Regions from separate parts of the Homo sapiens genome. Here all the other regions are linked to region 1. Evidence: promoter capture Hi-C in 16 types of primary human blood cells and fetal thymus (Javierre and others, 2016). All regions are on one chromosome and are shown on one strand. The core of a region is centred on a gene start or on the middle of the fragment in contact, and the rest is flanking DNA. Distances in the headings are between cores, read along the strand shown. Region 1 holds the start of NUDT13 (nudix hydrolase 13). Region 2 overlaps MICU1 (mitochondrial calcium uptake 1). Region 3 holds the start of DNAJB12 (DnaJ heat shock protein family (Hsp40) member B12).

Evidence for each region. Contacts are between HindIII fragments. The CHiCAGO score rates a contact against its expected background, and 5 or more counts as called.
Region 2: a contact is called between a fragment that was not itself captured here and the fragment with the promoter of NUDT13 in region 1, in 1 of 17 cell types (fetal thymus). The highest score is 5.9, in fetal thymus.
Region 3: the fragment with the promoter of DNAJB12 here is called in contact with the fragment with the promoter of NUDT13 in region 1 in 1 of 17 cell types (neutrophils); the score reaches 7.9 in neutrophils.

Annotation. Positions count from the first base shown.
Region 1 is chr10:73,107,323-73,112,132 of GRCh38, reverse strand. It overlaps NUDT13 (nudix hydrolase 13), which reads right to left and starts at 1,678. Exons shown (of 9, transcript NM_015901.6): 1 at 1,566-1,678. RefSeq lists a silencer at 4,706-4,810. The HindIII fragment of the contact is 10,450 bases long and covers 1-2,312 here.
Region 2 is chr10:72,373,315-72,377,573 of GRCh38, reverse strand. MICU1 (mitochondrial calcium uptake 1) reads left to right here. Exons shown (of 12, transcript NM_001195518.2): 11 at 1,702-1,791. Among named protein-coding and RNA genes, the nearest start is that of DNAJB12, 21 kb to the right of the region's middle. The HindIII fragment of the contact is 6,523 bases long and covers 1-4,259 here.
Region 3 is chr10:72,351,830-72,356,535 of GRCh38, reverse strand. It overlaps DNAJB12 (DnaJ heat shock protein family (Hsp40) member B12), which reads left to right and starts at 1,617. Exons shown (of 9, transcript NM_017626.7): 1 at 1,617-1,771. The coding sequence starts at 1,639. RefSeq lists enhancers at 1,391-1,640, 2,031-2,160. The HindIII fragment of the contact is 22,726 bases long and covers 1-4,706 here.

The DNA.
Region 1 (4,810 bases), core at 429-2,928:
GTGATCTGCCTGCCTGGGTCTCCCAAAGTGCTGGGATTACAGGCAAGAGCCACTGCCCCCGGCCTTATTTATATTTTTCAAATGACTAGAAGTATACATACCAAACTATTAAAGAGTGACTAATTTGGGGGAGTGGGATGAAGACAAATATTGAAAAAGGTGCCTGTAATTTTTATTTTGTTCATTTTTCTGTACTGAAAAAAAAATTAGCCATGTGTACTTATTCCTTTTAAGACAAAAGAAAAGCCTAATAAAATAGTAGTTCCTGAGACTAACTGGTTAATGAGGCTACCTCCATGCCACTGTTCCCCAAAACACCTCACCATATTCCATGAGCCAAAGGGAATTCATTTGGTGAGTTTCTTGGACCTTGGGAACTGCTGCCTGATGTTTTGCCTAGTTTCTGCTACTAAATTAACCTTAGCCAGTTGTAGATTATCATGGCTGCTGACTCATGAGCTGATGGTCACAGAGCTATTTATGTTTTTAAAAGTACAATGTTTGATAGAGATGAAAGGTAATAGCAGTCTTACCCAACTACTAAATGATGAGGCAAGGTGCTTTAACATTAAGAGTTTCTTTGAACTCCCCAACACAAATGATTCACACGTTTCTTATCCTGTTCATCTTTCCAGAAGAAAGATTATAAAGTACTACAGCGTGACAAAAAAGCCCATCTTGTAGTGAGCCGAGATCGCGCCACTGCACTCCAGCCTGGGCGACAGAGCGAGACTCCGTCTCAAAACAAAAAAACAAAACAAAACAAGACAAAACAAAAAAAGCCCATCTTGAATCTAGTGGTTACTTCCACCGTGAAGAGGCCAGGTTCCCTAGTATTTAAGAGACCTTTTTTTAGGCCGGGCGCGGTGGCTCACGTCTGTAATCCCAGCACTTTGGGAGGCCGAGGTGGGCGGATCACGAGGTCAGGAGATCGAGACCATCCTGGCTAACACGGTGAAACCCCGTCTCTGTTAAAAATACAAAAAAAAGTGGCTGGGCGTGGTGGCGGGCGCCTGTAGTCCCAGCTACTAGGGAGTATGAGGCAGGAGAATGGCATGAACCCAGGAGGCGGAGCTTGCAGTGAGTGGAGATCGTGTCACTGCACTCCAGCCTGGGCGACCAAGTGATACTTCGCCTGTGTTTAGAGTCCGTTTCTCCACGACTGTGGACCTCCATGGGACAGGGAAATATGGAAAACTGAGGAACCACGGGAATACAGCTTTGAAGGTCTCACTGACCTGCTTTATAGTTTGCTTTCTAAAAAATAATTTTCCCTCCTTTAAAAAAAAATAAAAATTAAGGCACAATGTGAGAGGTTGGCAAGTTCCATTTTTAAATGACTCTCCAAAAAAGTATCAGAAAATGATGAGCTGTGGTTACTGATGTAGCTCCACAGTTATGAGGCAAAACTATGGTTATATCCCTGGTTTCTGCAAAAAGGAAGAGATTAAGCTAAAATGTTAAAATGCTGTGACCACGACCTTTTTTCAAGTTCTGATCATGCCTCCCTGTGAAGTCCTTCCTGCACTTAGAAGCTGAGCAGGTTTCTGTTTCACTGTACTCACTCTGAATTCTTTTCGGGGCACCTTCCTAGTCCTCAGGAATCAGCACAAAAGAGGAAACTCCAAATGTTCACGTTCAACGGCTTCCGTTCCCTGGAGGGACCATTGCTGCTTCTGCCACACTTCCCAGAATCCTCCTAGAGATGCACTCTGGGAATTGTAGTTCAGTTCCCAGGCATGCTGCTGTGTTCTCCAGCTGCAAGTTAACCATGATTGTCAAAAGCATGAACATCTAAGATCTTATTACCAAGAGAACTACTGTATCCTTGGAGAAAGTAGGTTAGTATTAGATCCATTTTTTAATTAAAAAAAGATAAAGTCATTAAGTCCACCCTCATACACAGAAGGCATATATTATGAGGCTGGGGAGAGGATGAAGCAGGGGTGGGAATCAAATACCTTTTAACCTTAGTATATCTCTAGTTCTCTCTCTGCACACTTTAGAACTAGCTCTAAAATTTCATGAAGTTCTTCCAATTTAAAAGGATGGGACTCTGTATAGGTATGTATAGATATGTTTGAACTTATGGTAGGATTCATTTCTTGATCAGAGGAAGCGCATTCCATTTGACTGGAAGTAGTCTCCTAGAAGTGTGTCCGGAGTTGGTTCCTTCCAGTGGGTTCTTGGTCTTGCTGACTTCAAGAATGAAGCCGTGGAGCTTTCGGTGAGTGTTATAGCTCTTAAAGGTGGCACGAACCCAAAGAGTGAGCAGCAGCAAGATTTATTGTGAAGAGCGAGAGAACAAAGCTTCCACAGCGTGGAAGGGGACCCGAGTAGGTTGCCGCTGCTGTTGGGGGTGCCAGCTTTTATTCCCTTATTTGTCCCTGCCCACATCCTGCTGAATGGTCCATTTTACAGAGCACTGATTGGTCCATTTTATGGAGTGCTGATTGGTCCATTTGACAGAGTGCTGATTTGTGCATTTACAATCCTTTAGCTAGACACAGAGTGCTGATTGGTGCGTTTTTACAGAGTGCTGATTGGTGCGTTTACAATCCTTTAGCTAGACACAGTGCTGATTGGTGCATTTACAATCCTTTAGCTAGACACAGAGTGCTGATTGGTGTGTTTACAATCCTTTAGCTAGACACAGAGCACTGATTGGTGCATTTTTACAGAGTGCTGATTGGTGTGTTTACAATCCTTTAGCTGGAAACAGAGTGCTGATTGGTGCGTTTACAATCCTTTACCTAGACACAGAGCGCTGATTGGTGCATTTTTACAGAGTGCTGATTGGTGTGTTTACAATCCTTTAGCTGGACACAGAGTGCTGATTGGTGCATTTTTACAGTGTGCTGATTGGTGCATTTACAATTCTCTAACTAGACAGAAAAGTTCACCAAGTCCCCACTCCACCCAGGAAGTCCAGCTGGCTTCACCTCTCAGCAGAGCTACTTTGGTGCTGCTCTCTTCTCGTTTTACTACTGAAGTTACTTGCCTATGAGAGAAGACACTTTTTTTTTTTTTGAGATGGAGTTGCTCTGTCGCTCAGGTTGGAGAGCAGTGGTACGTACAATCTTGGCTTACTGAAACCTCCTCCTCCGGAGTCAAGTGATTCTCCTGCTTCAGCCTCCCGAGCAGCTGGGATAACAGGTGCACACCACCATGCCTGGCTAATTTTTGTATTTTTAGTAAAGCCAGGGTTTCGCCATGTTGACCAGGCTGTCTTAAACTTCTGACCTCAAGTGATCCACTCGCCTCAGCCTTCCAAAGTGCTGGGATTACAGGCGTGAGCCACCGCACCCAGCCAAGAGAAGAAGTCCACTCATTCAACATGTATTTAATGAGTACCCAATGTGCCTAGGACTGTTATAGGGATAGGATACAGCAGGGAACAAAACATGAAAATCTCTGTCCTCATGTAACTTACATTCTAGAAGGGGAAACAAACGAGTAAATATACAATGTGTCGTGGTTATAAAGCTTAAGAAGAAAAATAAAGCAAGATAAGTAGAGGGATTATTTTGCTATTTTATATAGGATGGTCAGCCTCATTGTTAAGATAATATTTAAACAAAGACCCTGAAGAAGGTGATGAAGAAACCAAATTTATATCTATGGAAAGAGATTTGTAGACAGAGCAAAATAAGCATATGCAAAGGCCCTGGGGTGGGAGTGTGCCGTTTGAGGAAAGGCTAGGAAAGAGCATGGTGATCAGAGATGAGATCAGAGTAGGCCGGGCATGGTGGCTCATGCCTGTAATCCCAGCACTTTGGGAGCCCGAGGTGGGCACATCATTTGAGGTCAGGAGTTTTAGACCAGCCTGGCCAACATGGTGAAACCCTACTAAAAATACAAAATTAAGCCAGGTCTGGTGTCACATACCTGTAGTCCCAGCTACTTGGGAGGCTAAGGCACAAGAATCGCTTGAACCCGAGAGGCAGAGGTTGCAGTGAGCTGAGATTGCGCCACTGCACTCCAGCCTGGGTGACAGAGCGAGACATTGTCTGAAAAAAAAAAAAAAAAAATCAGATTGGTTCATTATCCTTAAGGAAGACACAGAAAATTGTAGGGAAACAAGATATAAAGTCAATGGATTCTAAGGATGCTTAGGGGGAAATTGGGGCTCTAATAATTTAAAAAGTCAAAATAACTTTTTGTAGTAATTGTTAAGTGCTATAATAATAAAAATAGCTCAGACTGAGCATTTGCTGTGTTCCAGGCACTATGCTAAGTGTCCCACATATTTGTCATTAATCCTCACATCCTATGAAATCTGTATTAAAATTTGTACTTTAGGCTACGTGTGGTGGCACACGCCTGTAATCCCAGCACTTTGGGGACTGAGGTGGGAAGATTGCTTGAGTTCAGGAGTTCAAGAAACCAGCCTGAGCAACATGACAAAACACCATCTCTACAAAAAATACGAAAATTAGCTGGGCATGGTGGCATGCACCTGCGGTCCCAGCTACTCAGGAGGCTGAGATAGGAGGACTGCTTGAGCCCAGGAGTGAGCCGAGATCATGATGCTGCACTCCATCCAGCTTGGTGACAGAGACACCCTGTCTAAAAAAAAAAAAATTGCACGTTACAGATGAGAAAACATAGGCTTAGAAAAATTAAGTAGGGGAGGCGCGGTGGCTCACACCTGTAATCCCAGCACTTTGGGAGGCCAAGGCGGGTGGATCACAAGGTCAGGAGTTTGAGACCAGCCTGGCCAATATCGTGAAACCCCGTCTCTACTAAAAATACAAAAATGAGCCAAGTGTGGTGGCGTGCTCTTGTAGCCCCAGCTACTCGGGAGGCT
Region 2 (4,259 bases), core at 119-2,618, 730 kb after region 1:
CTTTCATGAGAACCCAATTCTAACATAATTGCTAGTGTTTGACGGTGAATGTCTGGGAAAGAGAAAACGGCAAGAGAAAAGTGATTTTTTGCTGAGGTCTAAAAATATATATTTTTTAAAAGAAAGATATGCATCCTGAACTATTGGCCGGGCCCGCTGAGTGTGGTGGCTCACCCCTGTAATCCCAGCACTTTGAGAGGCCGAGGTGGGCAGATCACCTGAGGTCAGGAGTTCAAGACCACCCTGGCCAACATGGTGAAACCCCATCTCTACTAAAAATATAAAAATTAGCCAGGCGTGATGGCAGGCACCAGTAGTCCCAGCTACTTGGGAGGCTGAAGCAGGAGAATTGTTTGAACCCGGAAGGCAGTGGTTGCAGTGAGCCGAGATCGTGCCACTGCACTCCAGTCTGGCGGACAGAGTAAGACTCTGTCTCAAAAAAAAAAAGAAAGATACGCATCCTGAACTGTTAAGACAAGGGCCAGTGCATATACCAATGGGCTCAGTTGGAAGAAGTCTGGTGCAAAACCAGTAGGGAGGAGGGACAGAGTTGGGCAGGGAGGGCTCACTGTGCAGGCACTTAGCTGTCATTCACCCACCAAGGCGTGAAGCCTTAGTGTACTCACACCACAGACAAGCCTCCTTGTTCCCACCACCCATTTATATATTTCTATAAATATATATATAAATATAAAAATATATATGGCATAAAATGTGCCATTATAACCATTTTTAAATATACAAGTCAGTGGAATTACATTAATTACATTCACAATGTTGTACAACCATCATCACTATTTTCAAAATTTTTCCATCACCCCAGACAGAAATTCTGTATACATAAAGCAGTAACTCCCCATTCCCCTCAGCCCACAATAACCTCTAATCTACTTTCTGTCTATAAATTGAATATCAGGCACTTTTTATTTTTTGAGACAGTGTCTCACTCTGTTACATAGAGTGTTACTCCAGTACAGTGGCGCCATCTCAGCTCATTGAAACCTCTGCCTCCTGGGCTCAAGCTATCCTCTCACCTCAGCCTCCCAAGTAGCTGGTGCACACCACCATGCCGGGCTAATTTTTTGTATTTTTTGTAGAGACAGGGTTTCGCCATGTTGCCTCGGAATCCCAAAGTGCTGGGATTACAGGTATGAGCCACCGCGCCTGGCCAGCCTAGGCATTCTTAATTAACTATATATACCTCCTAAACTGTAGCAGCAGTAGAAAAGAACAGAACTTGAGGTGAAAAGGAGGGAGCTTATGAATAAAAACTCAATTATCATTTTTTCTTTTTTTTTTTGAAACGGAGTCTCACTCTCCCAGGCTGGAGAGCAGTGGCGTGATCTCAGCTCACTGCAACCTCCGCCTCTCGGGTTCAAGCAATTCTCTGCCTCAGCCTCCCAAGTAGCTGGGATTACAGGCACCGGCTAATTTTTTGTATTTTTAGTAGAGACAGGGTTTCACCATCTTGGCCAGGCTGGTCTTGAAGTTCTGGCCTCAGGTGATCCACCCTCCTCGGCCTCCCAAAGTGCTGGAATTACAGGCATGAGCCACTGTGGCCAGCCTAACTTATCATTTTCTTAAATGTGACTTAAATGCAGTTGAAAACTTGTATTATGACTGAGTCGTTTTATCCCCTGAATCAGAGAAAGCAAAATGAAAATCCCTCTGCTGTGCTAATGCACCTCTTTCTTTTTTCAGTGACCATGCAGCAGGTGGCCAGGACAGTGGCTAAAGTGGAGCTCTCAGACCACGTGTGTGATGTGGTGTTTGCACTCTTTGACTGTGATGGTGAGTGGGGCCCTCTGGAGCCCGGAGGGGAAACAGCCTAGCTGCCCTTAGAGGCCCTTGTGTATAATGGAGCCTTGCGGACAGCATCTGTGTACCAGCCCATCCTCTTCAAGCTACCCACCTTTCTCACATTAGCACCTCAGCCCTTGGCATGATGATACTGAGAAATCGAACCCCTGGCCCTGGCTTCTGTTTTCCATTTCTTCTTCTTATAATTCCAATATGCCTATAGGCCTAAATTAATTTATGACCATAAGCATCTTAAAAATGGAAACAAAAATGTCAGACTCAACTTGCTACTTAGCGGATACGGAGCACTCAGGTATCTGAGTGTCTTTAGAAAGAAGGCAGTACTGATCTCTCCACCACCCAGGGCACATTCCAGCCAGTTGCATTCCATCTCCATAGCATTCCAGCTCCACACAGTGGTCTGTTGTGTCTGTGGCCACTCTGCTCTGTCATTTAGCCCATTCAAGAGATCTGGTTCTGGTTTGACCTTGGCATTATTTTTTAGGTATGGTAGCTGATATACTAATAACAACAATAACAACGGATGCTTACACTTTTTCAATGCTTACTATGAGCCAGAAAGTTAATCTGCTCATTTAATCTTCTGACCTAGGTATTGTTATTGACCACTTTTTACTGATGAGAAAGCTGAGACTCAGAGAGGTTAAGTAGATTTCCTAAGGTCACAAAGATAATAGTATTTGGGAGGCTGAGGCAGGCGGATCACCTGAGGTCAGGAGCTCAAGACCAGCCTGGCCAACATGGTGAAACCCCGTCTCTATTAAAAATACAAAAATTAGCCAGGCACAGTGGTGCGTGCCTGAAATCCCAGCTACTCGAGAGGCTGAGGCAAGAGAATCACTTGAACCCGGGAGGCAGCAGGGAGCAGAGATCGTGCCACAACACTCCAGCCTGGGCGACAGAGCGAGACTCTATCTCAAAAAAAAAAAAAAAAAAAAAAAAAAGATAATAGTAGATGGCAAAACCAGGATTTGAACTAAAACTGTACTGCCCCCTCTGTTTTATTTACTATATTACCACCCTCTCTTACCCCACAGCCAGTATTTGTTGTTCATCATCCTCCAGAAAGCTGGGCTAATGGAATTCAAGAGCCTGCTCAAAAGCTCCAGCCTATGGAGCTTCCCTTTTGGTCCCAGCATAAGAATCACTTCTGGGCTTTTTTATTCCTTAACATGGTTCCCTGAGCTTTTTAAGGGTAGTTGCAAGTCCTTTTCACCTTCCTACCCCCCATAGGACCTTGGATAGTACTTCTCACATAATAGGTGTTCATTAACTTGAATTATTTATGTTATTAAGTTGAACTTGAGTTATTTAAATCTCTAGCCTTGGCCTGGCGTGGTGGCTCATACCTGTAATCCCAGCACTTTAGGAGGCTAAGGCAGGAAGATGGTTTGAGCCCAGGAGTTTGAGACCAGCCTGGGCAATATAGTAAGACCATGTCTCTACAAAAAATTTTAAAAATTAGCCAGGCATGGTAGCACATGTGTGCCTATAGTCCCAGCTACTCAGGAGGCTGAAGTGAGAGGATCGCTTGAAGCGGGGAAGTCAAGACTGCAGTGAGCCATGATCACACCACTGCACTACAGCCTGGGTGACAGAGTGAGACCCTGTCTCAAAAAGTACAATTAAATAAATAAAATAAATCTCCAGCCTATACCTACAAAACCAAGGTTGAACTCAAAGGAAGCCCTAGGGCTAGGTTAAAGAGATGGCCTCACTCTCAGGTAGGGGTGGGTTTATTCTCTAGAGCTGCCCTGTCCACAGTATGATACCACCAAGGCACATGTGGCTATTAGCTACATTTAAATTTAAACTAGCTAGTGGCTACTGTATTGAATAGCACAAATATAAAACATTTCCCACATCGCAGAGAGTTCTAATGCACAGCAGTGCTGTAGACATATATTAACTTTCTCCAGATTTTTGTTTTCACTCCAATCACTTCTAGGTGGTTTAAATTTTTTCCAAAAAACATTTATTTTTATTATTTTTATAATTTTTGAAGCCAATATCCAAGACCTGGTCTGTGAAGTAAATATGGGAATAAATGCAACTAGCTTCTCAAGTCCCCCCTTTTCCCTAGAAGTCCTGGAAAATGATGTTTGATTTTCTAGCTTTTTAGAAAGAGGTTCTGTCATTATCTACTTAAATCACCTTTGGAAAATTATTTAACATCTCTGAGATTTATTTTCTTAATCTAGAAAGAAAAAGTATACTTAACAAAAAGCCGTTGTTATTTTTACCACTGCAAGATCTTAGGTCAAAATGCCAAAGGAAAGCCTGTAGAGTGGCTCACAACTGTAATCCCAGCAACTTGGGAGGCTGAGATGGGAAGATCACTTGAGGCCAGGAGTTCAAGACCAGCTTAGGCAACATAGCGAGATCCCATCGCTACAAAAAATAAGTTTAGCCAAGGTGTGGTAGTGTGTGCATGTAGT
Region 3 (4,706 bases), core at 368-2,867, 760 kb after region 1:
CTGTATCTCTGCTTGATTCTAAAAAGCATCATAAACTGAATCAAACCCTTAATATTCCCCCACCAAACTGCTTTTGTAGTCTTTTCCATTTCCTTGTTTTAGTAAATAGAAATTCTCTTCTTCCAGTTATCAAGCCAAAAACATTGGAATCATCCTTGAATCTTCTTTCTCTCACAGCCCACATCCATTGCGTCATTCTGTCTTCAAAATATATCCAGAATTTTACTACTACTCACCACCTCCGCCATCACCCTTATCCAAGTTACCATTAATTTTCACCTGTATTATAATAGTAGCTTCCTGACTCTCATCCGGATTACTGTAGTAGCATCTTACCAAATCCTGCCTGAAAGGCCAAGCAATGTAAGGGCTGACAGATGACTCGGGGATTCGGCAACGTGGAGGTCACTGGCAACCTTCACAAGATTGCTTTCACTGGAGTGATAGCCCTCGAAGAACGGGATAATGATAGAACTGGATTACACTCTGTAGTAGAATCTTTTTTTTTTCTTCTTTTTTTTTAGATGGCGTTTCACTCTTGTTGCCCAGGCTGGAGTGCAATGGTGTGATCTTGGCTCACCGCAACCTCCACCTCCCAGGTTCAAGCGATTCTCCCGCCTCAGCCTCCCGAGTAGGTGGGATTACAGGCCATGTGCCACCATGCCCGGCTAATTTTGTATTTTTAGTAGAGACGGGGTTTCTCCATGTTGGTCAGGCTGGTCTCGAACTCCTGACCTCAAGTGATCCGCCCGCCTCGGCCTCTCAAAGTGCTGGGATTACAGGCGTGAGCCACCGCGCCCAGCCTGTAGTAGAATCTTTACGCTCCCTAGAATGTATTCGCCTTCCTGATCTGTTATAACTCACCAAGAGAATTCCCTTTTCAGAGCCTTTGCACTTGCTGTTCCTTCGGCCTGACCACCCTTCCTCCAGACAGTCACATCTACCTGTTATCGTTCCTGAATTCTGGTACCTGTTAATGACAGCTTCTGAGAGGTTTCTTTTATCGCGCTATTTAAAATAGCGCCTCCCACTCTCTATCCCTGTGTTTTCCATAATTTTTCTTCAGAGCTTTTATCACTATCTGAATCTATCTGGAGCTCCCCCAGCCTACACACACTGGAATGTAAGCTCCATGAGAGCAGGAGCTTTGTTTTGCTCACCCCTGTATCCCCATCATAAAACCATGCCTCACAAACAGTGGGCACTCAATATCTGTTCAGTGAATAAATAACCTTTGTCTGAAACGTATGTAGTTACATTACGTATATAGATCACCACTTAGTAAACCGTCTGGGAATAACAGGCACTCCGAAGGCCCCAGTCTCATCCCGACGGCTACCACGTGACCTTCCTGAGCTTGGGTTTCCTCCTCCGGAAGATTAGAGGGTTGGCGCATACTCAACTCTAAGACCTCCGGAACATGGAATCTGGGCGTGCACCATTATTGACACCTACACCAGCCGTCCCTTTCTTAGAAGACATACGGTAGCACTTCCACCCTCGCTCAAAACTCGGGAAAGGAGGGGCGGAGGGTGGATGTCATCACTCCGCGCCCGGCTGCCCGCGACGCGCCGGCGGGTGGCGCAGCCCTTCGCTCGCCCGGCCTCCCCCTCCCTGGTTCCGCGTTCTGGTTCCGCCATGGAATCCAACAAGGATGAAGCTGAGCGCTGTATCAGCATCGCCCTCAAGGCCATCCAGAGCAACCAGCCCGACCGGGCGCTCCGCTTCCTGGAGAAGGCACAGCGGCTGTATCCGACGCCGCGAGTTCGCGGTGAGTGTGAGGTGCCGGAGAGACTGGGGACATTAGAACTGATGGGGGGAACACGGGAACGGACCGACGGGAGCAGTTGGGGGAGGGGGAGGGGTGGCGAGGCGCGGCTACGCCTGCGCACTGAGGCGCGCGGTGGCTGCTGGGAGGCGTAGTTTTTCCCTCTTGTTCCTCTGCGGGATGCGAGCCGTCTGGAGACTCGGGCGGCCGGGACTTCAGCTTTCGGGGTGCTGGCGGAGCCCGCTGGGGTTTGAGGTCTCCGAGAATGAAACGCGCTGGCAGCCGGGACGAAGGGAACTTACCTGGAAGTGAACTCGAACTACTTTTCCCAAGGGGCCGTTCGGTAGCCCAGGCCAGTCGCCGGCCTGGGAAATATTACAGTTCAGGAAAATAAACATAACTCCTTTAAGGGAGAGAATGGGCGCTAGACAGGGAGACATTTCTGTTCTTCGGGCGCCAGGGAAAGGCGCTTCCGTATCTTCACTCCCTCTCACCTCTCGGGCTGAGGGTCAGGGACCACTCTCCCAAAATGCAAGCCGGCCTTTGCACCCACCCCAGTCCGCCGCCTCGGACTGTCCTGAAGCCGGGCCCCTCACTCCTCCCGATGATGAGATTCGGAGCGGGTGGCCTGGTGGGAGGTGCTGACCTCAGCCACCGCCAGTCCTCCATCGCCCGCAAGAGTCCAGCGGCGGTCAGCCATGTGGACGCCGAGGCTGCTGAGTTGCCCTGGACAGGAGCCTCCTGAGCCAGGGAGGGAAGAGTGAAGCTGGCTTTACAACTCATCACCTCGCTTCACCCGGGAACCCTTTCTTTTTTCTTTAACCTAAGTTTTCCAAGGAGTTTTTCTTAATCCACGCTAGAGGGGAGAGAGACACCGGGTGGTGCTTGTGATCACCACTCAGTAAACCGTCTGGGAATAACAGGCACTCCGAAGGGCCCAGTCTCATCCTGACGGCTACCACGTGACCTTCCTGAGCTTGGGTTTCCTCCTCGGGAAGATTAGAGGGTTGGCGCAGATAATGTGATTGGCAATAATACCCATAGGGCTTTGCAGTTTAGGAAGCTCCTTCACCTGTGCCTTCTCACTTGAGCCTGCCAGTCAGGGATGCAGAGCAAAGATCATTATCTTTATTCTATGGGTGAGGAAAATCTCTGAGGTAAGGGATGCCCAGGATGACACAGCTAGAAAGTAAAATGTTCTGTGACTCTGTAAATGTTTATGAAGGAAAAGAAATGAAATTGAGGAACAGCAGTCAGCCTCCTAACCGGCCCTGCCCGCCTGATGAGATTGAGAAAGCGGAACGCTGGTGGAAGAGGTAGCCTGGACTGCTGAACTTTCCTCCCTCCGGACTCTTGCAGGTTGATCTTTGGCCTGTTTGCCTCCCCTTGGAGAGGGTTTCGGGCTGTATTTGCCAGGACACCTGAGGTAACCTGCTCGAGGAGCCTCCCTGTGAATTAATTCATATTCTGTGGTGGGGTGGTATCCTCCAGCTGTCAGAATTCTGCCTGACACTGATGCTGCTGCGGGCTCAGGAGCAGGCAGCCAAGAAAGGATGGGCCACAGGGCCTCTGGGGATCTTTCTGTCAGCAGGCCCCTGCACCAGTTCAGGAGCTTGAAGGAGTGTCCTCTCTGGGGCTCAGGCTCTGGAATTTGCTGAGACAGAAGAACCACCTGCATGCATATTTGTCATATTTGTGCTTTTCTGGAAAGACTATGAGACTATACGCCTTATGCATCCGTGTAAACTTTACCATCTGCAGCCCTCCACTGAGCTGACAAAGACCTGGGATTAGTTTAGGTCTGGGACAGGGAAAGATCTTACTTCAAAAATAGAGGGCAGGGCTACCCACTGGGCTGGCTACCTGCCTCCCCAGGGGGAGTAATACAGATATATTAGGTGGCGGTCTATTGCTTTGGGTTTAGGCTCATCCCAGATGCTCATTCAATGCAGCAGACTTTTGTTGAAGATCATTTATGTTTTGTTTGCAAAGTCCTCTGCTTGGTGCTAGCAAGATTGGTAAAATGTGATCCCTCACCTCAAAAGAGCTTATAATCTAGTGAAAGAGACAAAACTTACAGAAACAAATATTACAAGACAGAACTGTAATTAAACAAAAAATAAACCCAAGGTTAGACGCTGAGGACTTAAGGACAGGCATGAAAAAATCAGGCCCCATCATCCATGGGTTCACAGTCTGATGGTGGGGAGGAGGTGCGGAGGACAATCTCCTGAACATTAAATTATCAGCAGTTTAGTGAGTGCTGTAGCAAGTGCATAAAAATAATGTTATCTCACAGTGAGGGAATGCTTTGGGGATGACAGGAGTTAACATTTGAATTGTGCTTTGGAGGACGGTGTGAGACTTGAGGAAAGGCATCCTGGAAGAAGACAAAGGAGCTGAAAGTTGTAACGTTTGGGGGAAGAGATCAAAGTGTAGCAAGATTTAGAGGCAGTGGAGGTGGTAATTCGTATACAGAGAGGATTAAGTTTGGGAAATAAAATGGGGCCAGATCATAGAAATCCTTTTCTACCAGGCCAAGATATTTTCACCTTATTCTGTAGTTAGTGAGGAAACCATTGAGGTTTTTGATAGCAGGAATAAAGTACGGGCACTGTTGTTAAAAGAGAACAGCATGAAAGGTTAATGAGAGGGAAGAGAGCTTCAGGGCAGGAAGCCAATAGGAGAGAATTGCCTTGAGCTGGTTGGATATTCTGAGGGCCTGGGACAAGGCAGTCATGGATAAGGCTAAGGTCCCTGGAAAAGAGGCACCAGGCCTGTGTGAGAGAGAGGTGCAGAGGAGAATCAGATGGGATGCTGGGGAATCAGAATTGAAGCCCCTGTGACCAGGAAGAAACCAGGCTGAAGAACTGAGATGGGAAGAGATGAGCAGAGTGGGAGGTGCCAGTGGGATAGTCCAAAGGAGCTGTCAGCCTGG